Regions from separate parts of the Homo sapiens genome. Here region 1 is linked to region 2. Evidence: promoter capture Hi-C in human tissues and cell types (Jung and others, 2019). All regions are on one chromosome and are shown on one strand. Each heading gives the region's core, a stretch centred on a gene start or on the middle of the fragment in contact. The rest is flanking DNA. Distances are from core to core; before and after follow the strand shown.

Evidence for each region. The method cuts DNA at HindIII sites, captures the fragments that hold promoters and counts their contacts. A contact is called where the count stands out against the background at its distance.
Region 1: a fragment that was not itself captured here is called in contact with the fragment with the promoter of ICAM4 in region 2 in 1 of the 25 tissues and cell types used here (dorsolateral prefrontal cortex).

The regions. Positions count from the first base shown.
Region 1 is chr19:9,979,439-9,986,245 of GRCh38, forward strand. It overlaps COL5A3 (collagen type V alpha 3 chain), which reads right to left. Exons shown (of 67, transcript NM_015719.4): 31 at 6,404-6,457; 32 at 2,627-2,680; 33 at 1,650-1,694; 34 at 1,368-1,421; 35 at 1,210-1,254; 36 at 556-609; 37 at 401-454. Among named protein-coding and RNA genes, the nearest start is that of COL5A3, 28 kb to the right of the region's middle. The HindIII fragment of the contact is 3,144 bases long and covers 444-3,587 here.
Region 2 is chr19:10,282,405-10,288,634 of GRCh38, forward strand. ICAM4 (intercellular adhesion molecule 4 (Landsteiner-Wiener blood group)) reads left to right here and starts at 4,551. Exons shown (of 3, transcript NM_001544.5): 1 at 4,551-5,002; 2 at 5,132-5,434; 3 at 5,582-6,116. The coding sequence starts at 4,609. The coding sequence ends at 5,700. It overlaps ICAM1 (intercellular adhesion molecule 1), which reads left to right. Exons shown (of 7, transcript NM_000201.3): 3 at 1,077-1,382; 4 at 1,629-1,916; 5 at 1,999-2,253; 6 at 2,379-2,624; 7 at 2,711-4,211. The coding sequence ends at 2,883. ICAM4-AS1 (ICAM4 antisense RNA 1) reads right to left here. Exons shown (of 1, transcript NR_186335.1): 1 at 3,397-6,230. It overlaps LIMASI (lncRNA inflammatory and mucous response associated, antisense to ICAM1), which reads right to left and starts at 1,046. Exons shown (of 4, transcript XR_007067138.1): 1 at 917-1,046. RefSeq lists enhancers at 4,119-4,168, 4,223-5,192, 4,539-4,678. The HindIII fragment of the contact is 9,158 bases long and covers 1-5,476 here.

The DNA of each region.
Region 1 (6,807 bases), core at 766-3,265, 310 kb before region 2:
GGGGGCGGTGTTACATGGGGAAGGGATGGAGGAGCAGGAGACAGGGAAGGCCTGATAGGATCAGGAATCTGGCCGGTCCGGTGGCTCACGCCTGTAATCCCAGCACTTTGGGAGGCAGAGGCAGGTGGGTCACTTGAAGCCAGGAGTTTGAGAGCAGCCTGGTCAACATGATGAAGCCCCGTCTCTACTAAAAATACAAAAATTAGCCGGGCGTGGTGGCACGCGCCTGTAGTGCCACTCGGGAGGCTGAGGCAGGAGAATTGCTTGAACCTGGGAGGCAAAGGTTGCAGTGAGCCGAGATTGCCCCACTGCACTCTAGCCCAGGTGACAGAGTGAGACTCTGTCTCAAAAAGAAAAAAAAAAAAAAGGATCAGGAATCAAAGGTTGAGGGGTTACTCACCAGTTCTCCTCTCTGTCCAGGGTGCCCTGGTCGCCCATCTTTACCTTGGTGACCCTGGGGGATGAGGTGGGAAAAAGTTGGGGCACAGATACAGGGCTTCCTCCCTTCCCACATCCTCCACCCACCCAACCCCCAATGAGGGTGACCTCACTCACAGGGGGGCCCTTTGGCCCAGGGAATCCTGGAGGGCCTTGCAGACCAGGGAGGCCCTGAAATGGAAACAGAAATCATGATCTCATCCCCCCTGCCTCCCTGCCCACTCCCTGAGCCCCACATAATGACAACAGGATCGAGCACATATTGAGTGCTTACTGCATGCCAGGCATGGGCAGGGCATTCTCCACAAGTCAGTCATTTTATTCACCACTGTAGCCCTTTGGGTTGGAGACTGAGGTTACTCCCATTTTACAGAGGAGAAAACTAAGGCACAGAGTGGTTAAGTGACTTGCCCAAGGTCACACAGTAGGTGAGTGGCAGAGCCAGGACTTGAACTCATGGCTCTCTGACTTCACAGGCTGTGCTCCTTCTTTTTTTCTTTTCTTAAAGATGGAGTCTTGCTCTGTCACCCAAGCTGGAGTGCAGTGGTGTGATTAGCTCACTTCAGCTTCCAACTCCTGGGCTCAAGCAATTCTCTCATCTCAGCTTCCAGCATAGGTGGGACTACAGGCGTGCACCACCACACCCAATTAAGCTGTGCTCTTACCACTGCATTATAATGTCTCTTCATCTCTTGGGTTTGTCCTCCACTCAGAATCTCTCTCTCTCACACACACACACATTCACACACACACACACACACACACACTCACCTTTTCTCCAGGGATCCCAGGGGCTCCATCCTGGCCCACATCGCCCTAGGACAGAGTGAATGAGACTCAGGCCCCAGAACAAACTCAACTGGGAAGAATTTGGAGGGACTGGCTGAGCCTGGGGCATGGGGGGCCTTGATTGCCCACCCATCCCATACCTTGGGGCCTGGTTGCCCTGTGGCACCCGGTTGCCCCCTCTCTCCACGGGAACCCTGAACAAAAAAAAAAGGCAAAGATCAGATATGAGGGGGTGGGGGAGCCTGGGAGATGAGACCAAGTCTTCCAGGTCCCCTCCCCTTGTGACTCCCTCTCCTGCCCGACCAGGGACATTGATATAACCCAAACCCTTTCCCTGCCCACAGATGACCTCTCCACTACCTTTCCTTCCCAGCCCTGTCCCCAAGTCCCAGCAGGGTAGGGGGCACTGTCTATTTTCTTACTGGTGGTCCCCGCTCTCCTTCCAGGCCTGGCTGCCCTGTCTTTCCCTGAAAATGAATTGTAAGAGAGAAAGCAGAAGAGAGTTAGGGTGCAAAGGTATGACGCAAACACAAAAAGACACCCAGTCACAGACCCAGAAAGCTGTCTGCCACATATTTATTCACAAGCTTTTCAGTCATACACATACACACAAATACAACTTATACTCAAAACCACACAAAGATCTCAAACACACAATTACAACTATGATTGCATCTACAGAGTACAAACGTGCAAGCATGTTTGCCCACAAGACATATATTGATCACAGCTGTGCAGTATGCATACATGATTGCATGTAATCATGGCATGCATTTGGCAATCCACAGCCTGAAGATGACACAGAACTCATCATGCAATACATCTCTTGCACACATGTATACCCACTGTAAACACATGAAGGCCTGGATTCAGCTGAGGACTTTGTCTTGGTAAGCACAGCAGTATACATACACTCATGTACGTACATACAATGTTCATTAACACTGTTACAATACACACATAGCAACACAAATACAATACATGCATGTATACCCATCACTCAGTGTGCACAGAAACACACACATGTGTATACACATGTCCTTTCACGCATATGTACAAGCTTCTTGCACACATTTATGCCCACCATCATGCAAAGTGCACGCAGATTCATGCCCTTGTTCACCCAGGCACAGGCCTGCAGGCTGCGGCATTCAAACCCTGTCTCATCGATATTGAAAGATACATGAAACACATATACATGTGCTTACAGTCATATTCATGATAATACCATGTGTAATCACCTACATGTGTCATGCATTGCATATAATAGCATGTGTGCACACAAATGTTCCAGGCATAGACACAAACACCCAGGGTCCACCCATCATCAGACACAACCACACATGCTGTTCCCCTCAGACAAGTTCTCCCCTCTCCCTTACCCCCGGTCATGACTCACCGACTTCCCTTTCTCTCCTATGGGTCCCAGGGGACCGGGAAATCCAATAGATCCCTGAGTGGAGAGAATTAGAAAGAAGACATGAGGGTGAGGAGTGAGTGGTGGGTGGAATTGGCCCCTCATACCATCCTTTGAGGCATTTCCAGGTCACTGATTCCAGAAGCTTCCTTGGTCTCTACAGCCCCAGCCTCCTACAAGGCAGCCCTCTTCTCTCCTCTCCCCTCCTCTCCTCCCTTCTCATTTCACTGCAGCCCTTTGCACTGGCTGCTGTCTTTGGCTGAAATGCTTGTCTCCTAGGCCTCCACAAAGTCAGCCACTCCTGACCATTTAGATCTCATTCAGATGTCACCTCCTTAGAATGCCTTTCTACCACCATCCTGGCTTCCACATTGCCCAAGTCACCCTCTGTCTGTCACATTATGCTATTTTGTTTTCCCAAGAACACTTGCGTTGAAATGACCCTTATTGACTTATTTATTCAATGCCTGTTTTCCCCCACTGTGACATAGCTCATTGGTCTTATTCCCCACTGCCTGGCACACGGTGAGTGCTTTTTAATATTTGTTAACTGACTCCAGTCCATGCTGGAGGAACCCTTCCTCCACCTGGGGGAAGACATCACAGGCTCTGATATCCTCTCCCACACCTCACTGTGCAGACTGAGTTCAGATCAGAAAAGACAGTTGCCCAAGTTACACAGTCTGTGGTGGCATCCCGCCTCAAAGCCCATTTCAGGCTCCCTCTACTCTCCCTTCCCATCTGGGGGTTCCATGGTCTCTATACTCTTTTTTTGTTTGTTTTATTTTTAAGAGACAGAGTCTCACTTTGTCACCCAGGCTGGAGTGCAGTGGTGCAATCATAGCTCACTGCAGCTTCAACCTTTTGGGCTCAAGTGATCCTCCTACCTCAACCTCCTGAATAGCTGGGACTACAGGTTCACGCCACCATGTCCAGCTAATTTTTGAAATAAATTTTTAGTAGATATGGGGTCTCACTATGTTGCCCAGGCTGGTCTTGAACTCCCGGCCTCTAGTGATTCTCCTACCTCAGCCTCTGAAAGTGCTGAGATTACAGGTGTGAGCCACCAACCTGGCCCCAACACTCTTCAAGGATCCTGAACACATGCACACAAGGACTTTCTAAAATCTTAGTCTATGTCAGGTACAGTGGCTTATGCTTGTAATCCCAGCACTTTGGGAGGCCAAGGTAGGAGAATCACTTGAAGCTGGGAGTTTGAGATCAGCCTGGGCAGCATAGCGAGACCCTGTCTCTGTAAAAAATTTAAAAATTCATCAGGTGGTGCGCACCTGTTGTTCCCAGCTACTCAGGAGGCTGAGGCAGGAGGACTGCTTGAGTCCAAGAATTGGGGGCTGTAATAAGCTATGATCGCACTATTGCACTCCAGCCTGAATGACAGAGTGACACCCTGTCTGAAAGGAAAGCAAGCAAGCAAGCAAAAAGAAAGAAGAAAGAAAGAAAGAAAGAAAGAAAGAAAGAAAGAAAGAAAGAAAGAAAGAAAGAAAGAAAGAAAGAAAGAGAAAGAGAGAGAGAGAGAAAGAAAGAAAGAAGAGAGAGAGAGAAAGAAAGACAGACAGAAAGAAAGAAAGAAAAAAGAAGAAAGAAAGAAGGAAAGAAAGAGAAAAAAGAAGGAAAAGAAAAGAAAAAAGAGGGGGACGCAGTGAGGGAGGGAGGGAAGAAAGGAAGGAAGGAAGAAAGGAGGAAGGAAGGAAGGAGAATAAAGTTGTCCATCAAAACTAAGCTTCAAAGTTTTTTTCTCAATCGTTAAAAAGAAAAAAAAATCTAAGTTAAAGGAAAAGGAGTCAATGTAAAGGGAAATCACTGAAAAAATAAAAAAAAAAAACCACTGTCAAATCCAACGTAGGCAAGATAACTATCAGCTCAACAGCACAAAAATGTGAAACTCTAGGAGGATTCTGCACTCAATTATCTTCCCAAATGTCTATTTTTTTTTTCTTTTGAGACAGAGTCTCACTCTGTTGCCCAGGGTGGAGTAAGTGGCACGATCTCAGCTCACTGCATCCTCTGCTTCCCGGGCTCAAGCAATTCTCCTGCCTCAGCCTCCATGTACCTGGGATTACAGGCACCCGCCACTGCACCCAGCTAATTCTTGTATTTTTAGTAGAGATGGGGTTCTGCCATGTTGGCCAGGCTGGTGGTGAACTCTCGACCTCAGGTGATCCACTCGCCTCGGCCTCCCAAAGTGCTGGGATTACAGCCATGAGCCACTGCGCCCAGCCCCAAATGTCTTTAGGTTCCTGCTCTACTCTAGAGAAACAGAACTCATCAGTGATATAATATGGGAATAGTTTAGGCAGAAAAATGAATCTCATCAGTGTCCTCACCCATCAAAACATTGGCAAACAAATGTTATGTTTTCATATAAGTACGTTTTTGCATAAGTACATTTGACTATAAGTTATAATTAATTCAAGATATGTAAGATGTGTATTTTATGATTCTATGATTCTCCCCTTTAACTGACTTTGTTGGTGAATGAAACTTAATCACACCAAATAAAAGGATCCTACAGTTTTATAATCATTGTCATCATCAGCATTATCAACATTATTATAATCAAATTGATGAGGTGGAAATTACTGGGATGTCTGTTTCACCGCAGAGAAAACAGGCTCAAGAAACTTTCCCAAGATCACATAGCGGGTAAGAGGGCATTTGACCCCAAGTCTGTCTGATGTCAAAGCTCACTTTTTAAAAAAATTTTTGAGACAGAGTCCCCCTCTGTCACCCACGCTGGGGTGCAGTGGCTCGATCATAGCTCACTGCAGGCTCAATCTCCTTGGGCTCAGGTGATCCTCCCATCTCAGCCTCCCAAGTAGCTGGGACCACATCTGGCTAATTTTTTTTTTTTTTTTTTTTTTTTTGAGATGGAATCTTGCTTTGTCACCAGGCTGGAGTTCAGTGGTGAGATCTTGGCTCACTGCAACCTCTGCCTCCTGGGGTCAAACAATTCTCCTGTCTCAGCCTCTTGGGTAGCTGGGATTACAGGTGCATGCTACTATGCCCAGCTAATTTTTTTGTATTTTTGGTAGTGACAGGGTTTTACCATGTTGGCCAGGCTGGTCTCAAACTCCTGACCTCAAGTGATCCGCCTGCCTCTGCCTCCCAAAGCGTTGGGATTACAGGTGTGAGCCACTGCCCCCGGCCACATCTGGCTAATTTTTTTTTTTTTTTTAGATGGAGTTTCGTTCTTGTTGCCCAGGCTGGAGTGCAATGGTGCAATCTCAGCTCACCACAACCTCTGCCTCCTGGGTTCAAGCGATTCTCCTGCCTCAGCCTCCCGAGTGGCTAGGATCACAGGTATGCACCACCACACCCAGCTAATTTTGTATTTTTAGTAGAGATGGGGTTTCTCCATGTTGGCCAGGCTGGTCTCTAACTCCTGACCTCAAGTGATCCGCCTGCGTCTGCCGCCCAAAGTGTTGGGATTACAGCCATGAGCCACTGCGCCCAGCCACATCTGGCTAATTTTTGTATGTTTTCATAGGGACCACGTTTTGCCACGTTGCCCAGTCTGGTCTCGAACTCCTGGGCTCAAGCAATCCTCTCACCTCAGCCTCTCAGGGTGCTGGGATTATAGCCAAGAGCCACTATGCCTGGCCAAAGCCCACATTTTACATTCTCTCAGTGACCCTTGGGGTGGGCAGCTCATCCCCCAAGACCACAGCCTGGACCCCCAGATGTTAGTCTCTGAATCCTGCCCATATCCATCTCCACCCCCCACCCCCAGCTTCCTACCTTAGGTCCAGGGCGTCCTGGATAACCTGGGAGGCCTGGCACCCCAAGCTTGCCCTGCAGAAAGGTTATGGGACAAAGGTCAGAAATTGCAACCTGGAGGTCAGAGGCGGAAAGGTCAGGCTGGCTGGGGCATGGTGAATGGGCTAATGGGATGGGAGTTGGGGAAACGAGGTTCAAGTCCTTGCTCCTGCCTGCTAGGGGCATGTCCTTGGGCAGGTCATTCAGCCATTCCAAGTCTCAGTTTTCCTTGTCTGTAAAATGGGATGAAAATGCCTATTGCATGTGGTGGTTATGGATATGAACACATAAGTTGCATGCATTAAATTGCTCTGTAATGCTGAGCTGAGGAATTAAAGATGACAAGGTTGGTAGCAACCTCCTGAGGTCGAAGGTATAATAAAAGG
Region 2 (6,230 bases), core at 3,301-5,800:
GCCAGACTAATTTTTGTATTTTTAATAGAGACGGGGTTTCACTCTGTTGGTCAGGCTTATCTCGAACTCCTGACTTCGTGGATCCACCCTCCTTGGCCTCCCAAAGTGCTGGGATTAAAGGCGTGAGCCACCGCGCCCTGCCAACCTTTTTTTAATTTTTCTTAGAGATGGGGGTCTCCCTATGTTGCCCAGGCTTGTCTTGAACTCCTGGCCTCAAGTGACCCTCTTGCCTTGGCCTCACAAAGTGCTAGGATTACAGCCTGAGCCATCACACCTGGCCAACAGGTTTTTTTTTTTGTTTTGTTTTGTTTTTTAAAGAATGTCTAGGCCAGGCTCATTTACTTTCACCTGTAATCCCAGCACTTTGGGAGGCCGGGGTGGGCAGATCACTTGAGGTCAGGAATTCGAGACCAGCCTGGGCAACATGCTGAAACCCCGTTTCTACTAAAAATACAAAAATTAGCTGGGTGTGGTGACACGTGCCTGTAATCCCAGCTACTCAGGAGGTTGAGGCAGGAGAATTGCTTGAACCCAGGAGGCAGAGGTTGCAGTGAGCCAAGATCATGCCATCACCCTCCAGCCTGGGCGACAGAAGGAGACTCAGTCTAAAAACTTAATTAATTAATTAATTAAAAATAAAAATACAAAAATTAACCTGGTGTGGTGGTGTGTGCCTGTAATCTAAGCTACTCAGGAGGCTGAGGCAGGAGAATCCCCTGAATCCCAGAGGCAGAGGTTGCAGTGAGCCAAGATCGAGCCACTGTTTGCCCAGTCTAGTGCACTGGGCTGCTGAATTTATTTGACCAGACACCTAGCAATAGACTTTGAAGTTCTTTTCCACTTTTCACTCTAAGATGCTGCTGTCATGAATAAGGAATATTTTGATCCCCTTCACAAACACTCGGGGCCCTCTTACCAGTTTTCACTGAAGATCTTGACATTCCTATCTGCTTAGGTGTCTGGGCGTGTTTGGGGGAGATACTGAAGAGGTAGGGCTCCCAGGCAGGTGCAGTTCGTCTGTTAGGCAGGCAGCAAGGTCCACTTCACCAGACACCCCCACCTCTGTTTTCCTGCAGGGACTCCAGAACGGGTGGAACTGGCACCCCTCCCCTCTTGGCAGCCAGTGGGCAAGAACCTTACCCTACGCTGCCAGGTGGAGGGTGGGGCACCCCGGGCCAACCTCACCGTGGTGCTGCTCCGTGGGGAGAAGGAGCTGAAACGGGAGCCAGCTGTGGGGGAGCCCGCTGAGGTCACGACCACGGTGCTGGTGAGGAGAGATCACCATGGAGCCAATTTCTCGTGCCGCACTGAACTGGACCTGCGGCCCCAAGGGCTGGAGCTGTTTGAGAACACCTCGGCCCCCTACCAGCTCCAGACCTTTGGTGAGGATTGAAGAAGCCAGCAGGGAGAAGGTGGGGGTGGGGTATCCTGCAATGCGGTGCCTGTGGCCACAGGATCTTTTGAGATGGGTGTGGCCCCGGCTAAGGGGTGCATGTGTTCTAGGCGTATGTGACCTAGGCTGCTGAGTGGCCCTGGAAGAGGATCTCGCAGGAGGGGGAATGAAATGCCCCAGAGAAGGGCTTCGGGACGTCCATCCCTGTCTGCTCACACCTTTCTTCTCTCCCTAGTCCTGCCAGCGACTCCCCCACAACTTGTCAGCCCCCGGGTCCTAGAGGTGGACACGCAGGGGACCGTGGTCTGTTCCCTGGACGGGCTGTTCCCAGTCTCGGAGGCCCAGGTCCACCTGGCACTGGGGGACCAGAGGTTGAACCCCACAGTCACCTATGGCAACGACTCCTTCTCGGCCAAGGCCTCAGTCAGTGTGACCGCAGAGGACGAGGGCACCCAGCGGCTGACGTGTGCAGTAATACTGGGGAACCAGAGCCAGGAGACACTGCAGACAGTGACCATCTACAGTAAGAAGGGGCAGGGGCGGAGTGGGGCTTCTTGGGGGTGTGACCTGAACCCGGGGCGGGGCTCACTGTGTGCCTATTCCAGGCTTTCCGGCGCCCAACGTGATTCTGACGAAGCCAGAGGTCTCAGAAGGGACCGAGGTGACAGTGAAGTGTGAGGCCCACCCTAGAGCCAAGGTGACGCTGAATGGGGTTCCAGCCCAGCCACTGGGCCCGAGGGCCCAGCTCCTGCTGAAGGCCACCCCAGAGGACAACGGGCGCAGCTTCTCCTGCTCTGCAACCCTGGAGGTGGCCGGCCAGCTTATACACAAGAACCAGACCCGGGAGCTTCGTGTCCTGTGTGAGTGGGGCTGCTGGTCAATGGCCCCTATCCCCCAAGGCCCAATCTCCCTGAAGGTCCCATAAGGTCTTGCCTCCAAGTCCTGCCCCCACCCACCTCCATGTCATCTCATCGTGTTTTTCCAGATGGCCCCCGACTGGACGAGAGGGATTGTCCGGGAAACTGGACGTGGCCAGAAAATTCCCAGCAGACTCCAATGTGCCAGGCTTGGGGGAACCCATTGCCCGAGCTCAAGTGTCTAAAGGATGGCACTTTCCCACTGCCCATCGGGGAATCAGTGACTGTCACTCGAGATCTTGAGGGCACCTACCTCTGTCGGGCCAGGAGCACTCAAGGGGAGGTCACCCGCAAGGTGACCGTGAATGTGCTCTGTGAGTGAGCCGGCGGGCAGAGCTGGGTGGGGGCAGGGGCCATGGACCTAATGCAATCCTCACCGCCTGTTGTATCCTCCCCACAGCCCCCCGGTATGAGATTGTCATCATCACTGTGGTAGCAGCCGCAGTCATAATGGGCACTGCAGGCCTCAGCACGTACCTCTATAACCGCCAGCGGAAGATCAAGAAATACAGACTACAACAGGCCCAAAAAGGGACCCCCATGAAACCGAACACACAAGCCACGCCTCCCTGAACCTATCCCGGGACAGGGCCTCTTCCTCGGCCTTCCCATATTGGTGGCAGTGGTGCCACACTGAACAGAGTGGAAGACATATGCCATGCAGCTACACCTACCGGCCCTGGGACGCCGGAGGACAGGGCATTGTCCTCAGTCAGATACAACAGCATTTGGGGCCATGGTACCTGCACACCTAAAACACTAGGCCACGCATCTGATCTGTAGTCACATGACTAAGCCAAGAGGAAGGAGCAAGACTCAAGACATGATTGATGGATGTTAAAGTCTAGCCTGATGAGAGGGGAAGTGGTGGGGGAGACATAGCCCCACCATGAGGACATACAACTGGGAAATACTGAAACTTGCTGCCTATTGGGTATGCTGAGGCCCCACAGACTTACAGAAGAAGTGGCCCTCCATAGACATGTGTAGCATCAAAACACAAAGGCCCACACTTCCTGACGGATGCCAGCTTGGGCACTGCTGTCTACTGACCCCAACCCTTGATGATATGTATTTATTCATTTGTTATTTTACCAGCTATTTATTGAGTGTCTTTTATGTAGGCTAAATGAACATAGGTCTCTGGCCTCACGGAGCTCCCAGTCCTAATCACATTCAAGGTCACCAGGTACAGTTGTACAGGTTGTACACTGCAGGAGAGTGCCTGGCAAAAAGATCAAATGGGGCTGGGACTTCTCATTGGCCAACCTGCCTTTCCCCAGAAGGAGTGATTTTTCTATCGGCACAAAAGCACTATATGGACTGGTAATGGTTACAGGTTCAGAGATTACCCAGTGAGGCCTTATTCCTCCCTTCCCCCCAAAACTGACACCTTTGTTAGCCACCTCCCCACCCACATACATTTCTGCCAGTGTTCACAATGACACTCAGCGGTCATGTCTGGACATGAGTGCCCAGGGAATATGCCCAAGCTATGCCTTGTCCTCTTGTCCTGTTTGCATTTCACTGGGAGCTTGCACTATGCAGCTCCAGTTTCCTGCAGTGATCAGGGTCCTGCAAGCAGTGGGGAAGGGGGCCAAGGTATTGGAGGACTCCCTCCCAGCTTTGGAAGCCTCATCCGCGTGTGTGTGTGTGTGTATGTGTAGACAAGCTCTCGCTCTGTCACCCAGGCTGGAGTGCAGTGGTGCAATCATGGTTCACTGCAGTCTTGACCTTTTGGGCTCAAGTGATCCTCCCACCTCAGCCTCCTGAGTAGCTGGGACCATAGGCTCACAACACCACACCTGGCAAATTTGATTTTTTTTTTTTTTCCAGAGACGGGGTCTCGCAACATTGCCCAGACTTCCTTTGTGTTAGTTAATAAAGCTTTCTCAACTGCCTCAGCCTTGTGTGAGTTGAGGGGAGGTGTCACATCCAGCTGGAGTCCTTTCTAAGCAGCCACAGCCTGATCCTCCCACTTCCTCCCCCAAGAAAACATTGTGGGTTGATGGCCATACCCTGAGGTTCTGGTCCAAATCGGACTTTCTATGACCTTCTGGGTCTCTAGTGAAAACTAAAGACTCCTCTCCAGAAAAAAACATTTGGTTTCTAATGAGGCCTGGAATCTTATTCTTGACCTGGGGAGCGGAATCCCTTTTTGCAGTACTCCCGGGCCCTCTGTTGGGGCCTCCCCTTCCTCTCCAGGGTGGAGTCGAGGAGGCGGGGCTGCGGGCCTCCTTATCTCTAGAGCCGGCCCTGGCTCTCTGGCGCGGGGCCCCTTAGTCCGGGCTTTTTGCCATGGGGTCTCTGTTCCCTCTGTCGCTGCTGTTTTTTTTGGCGGCCGCCTACCCGGGAGTTGGGAGCGCGCTGGGACGCCGGACTAAGCGGGCGCAAAGCCCCAAGGGTAGCCCTCTCGCGCCCTCCGGGACCTCAGTGCCCTTCTGGGTGCGCATGAGCCCGGAGTTCGTGGCTGTGCAGCCGGGGAAGTCAGTGCAGCTCAATTGCAGCAACAGCTGTCCCCAGCCGCAGAATTCCAGCCTCCGCACCCCGCTGCGGCAAGGCAAGACGCTCAGAGGGCCGGGTTGGGTGTCTTACCAGCTGCTCGACGTGAGGGCCTGGAGCTCCCTCGCGCACTGCCTCGTGACCTGCGCAGGAAAAACACGCTGGGCCACCTCCAGGATCACCGCCTACAGTGAGGGACAGGGGCTCGGTCCCGGCTGGGGTGAGGGGAGGGGGCTGGAAGAGGTGGGGGAAGGGTAGTTGACAGTCGCTCTATAGGGAGCGCCCGCGGACCTCACTCAGAGGCTCCCCCTTGCCTTAGAACCGCCCCACAGCGTGATTTTGGAGCCTCCGGTCTTAAAGGGCAGGAAATACACTTTGCGCTGCCACGTGACGCAGGTGTTCCCGGTGGGCTACTTGGTGGTGACCCTGAGGCATGGAAGCCGGGTCATCTATTCCGAAAGCCTGGAGCGCTTCACCGGCCTGGATCTGGCCAACGTGACCTTGACCTACGAGTTTGCTGCTGGACCCCGCGACTTCTGGCAGCCCGTGATCTGCCACGCGCGCCTCAATCTCGACGGCCTGGTGGTCCGCAACAGCTCGGCACCCATTACACTGATGCTCGGTGAGGCACCCCTGTAACCCTGGGGACTAGGAGGAAGGGGGCAGAGAGAGTTATGACCCCGAGAGGGCGCACAGACCAAGCGTGAGCTCCACGCGGGTCGACAGACCTCCCTGTGTTCCGTTCCTAATTCTCGCCTTCTGCTCCCAGCTTGGAGCCCCGCGCCCACAGCTTTGGCCTCCGGTTCCATCGCTGCCCTTGTAGGGATCCTCCTCACTGTGGGCGCTGCGTACCTATGCAAGTGCCTAGCTATGAAGTCCCAGGCGTAAAGGGGGATGTTCTATGCCGGCTGAGCGAGAAAAAGAGGAATATGAAACAATCTGGGGAAATGGCCATACATGGTGGCTGACGCCTGTAATCCCAGCACTTTGGGAGGCCGAGGCAGGAGAATCGCTTGAGCCCAGGAGTTCGAGACCAGCCTGGACAACATAGTGAGACCCCGTCTATGCAAAAAATACACAAATTAGCCTGGTGTGGTGGCCCGCACCTGTGGTCCCAGCTACCCGGGAGGCTGAGTTGGGAGGATCCTTTGAGCCCTGAAAGTCGAGGTTGCAGTGAGCCTTGATCGTGCCACTGCACTCCAGCCTGGGGGACAGAGCACGACCCTGTCTCCAAAAATAAAATAAAAATAAAAATAAATATTGGCGGGGGAACCCTCTGGAATCAATAAAGGCTTCCTTAACCAGCCTCTGTCCTGTGACCTAAGGGTCCGCATTACTGCCCTTCTTCGGAGGAACTGGTTTGTTTTTGTTGTTGTTGTTGTTTTTGCGATCACTTTCTCCAAGTTCCTTGTCTCCCT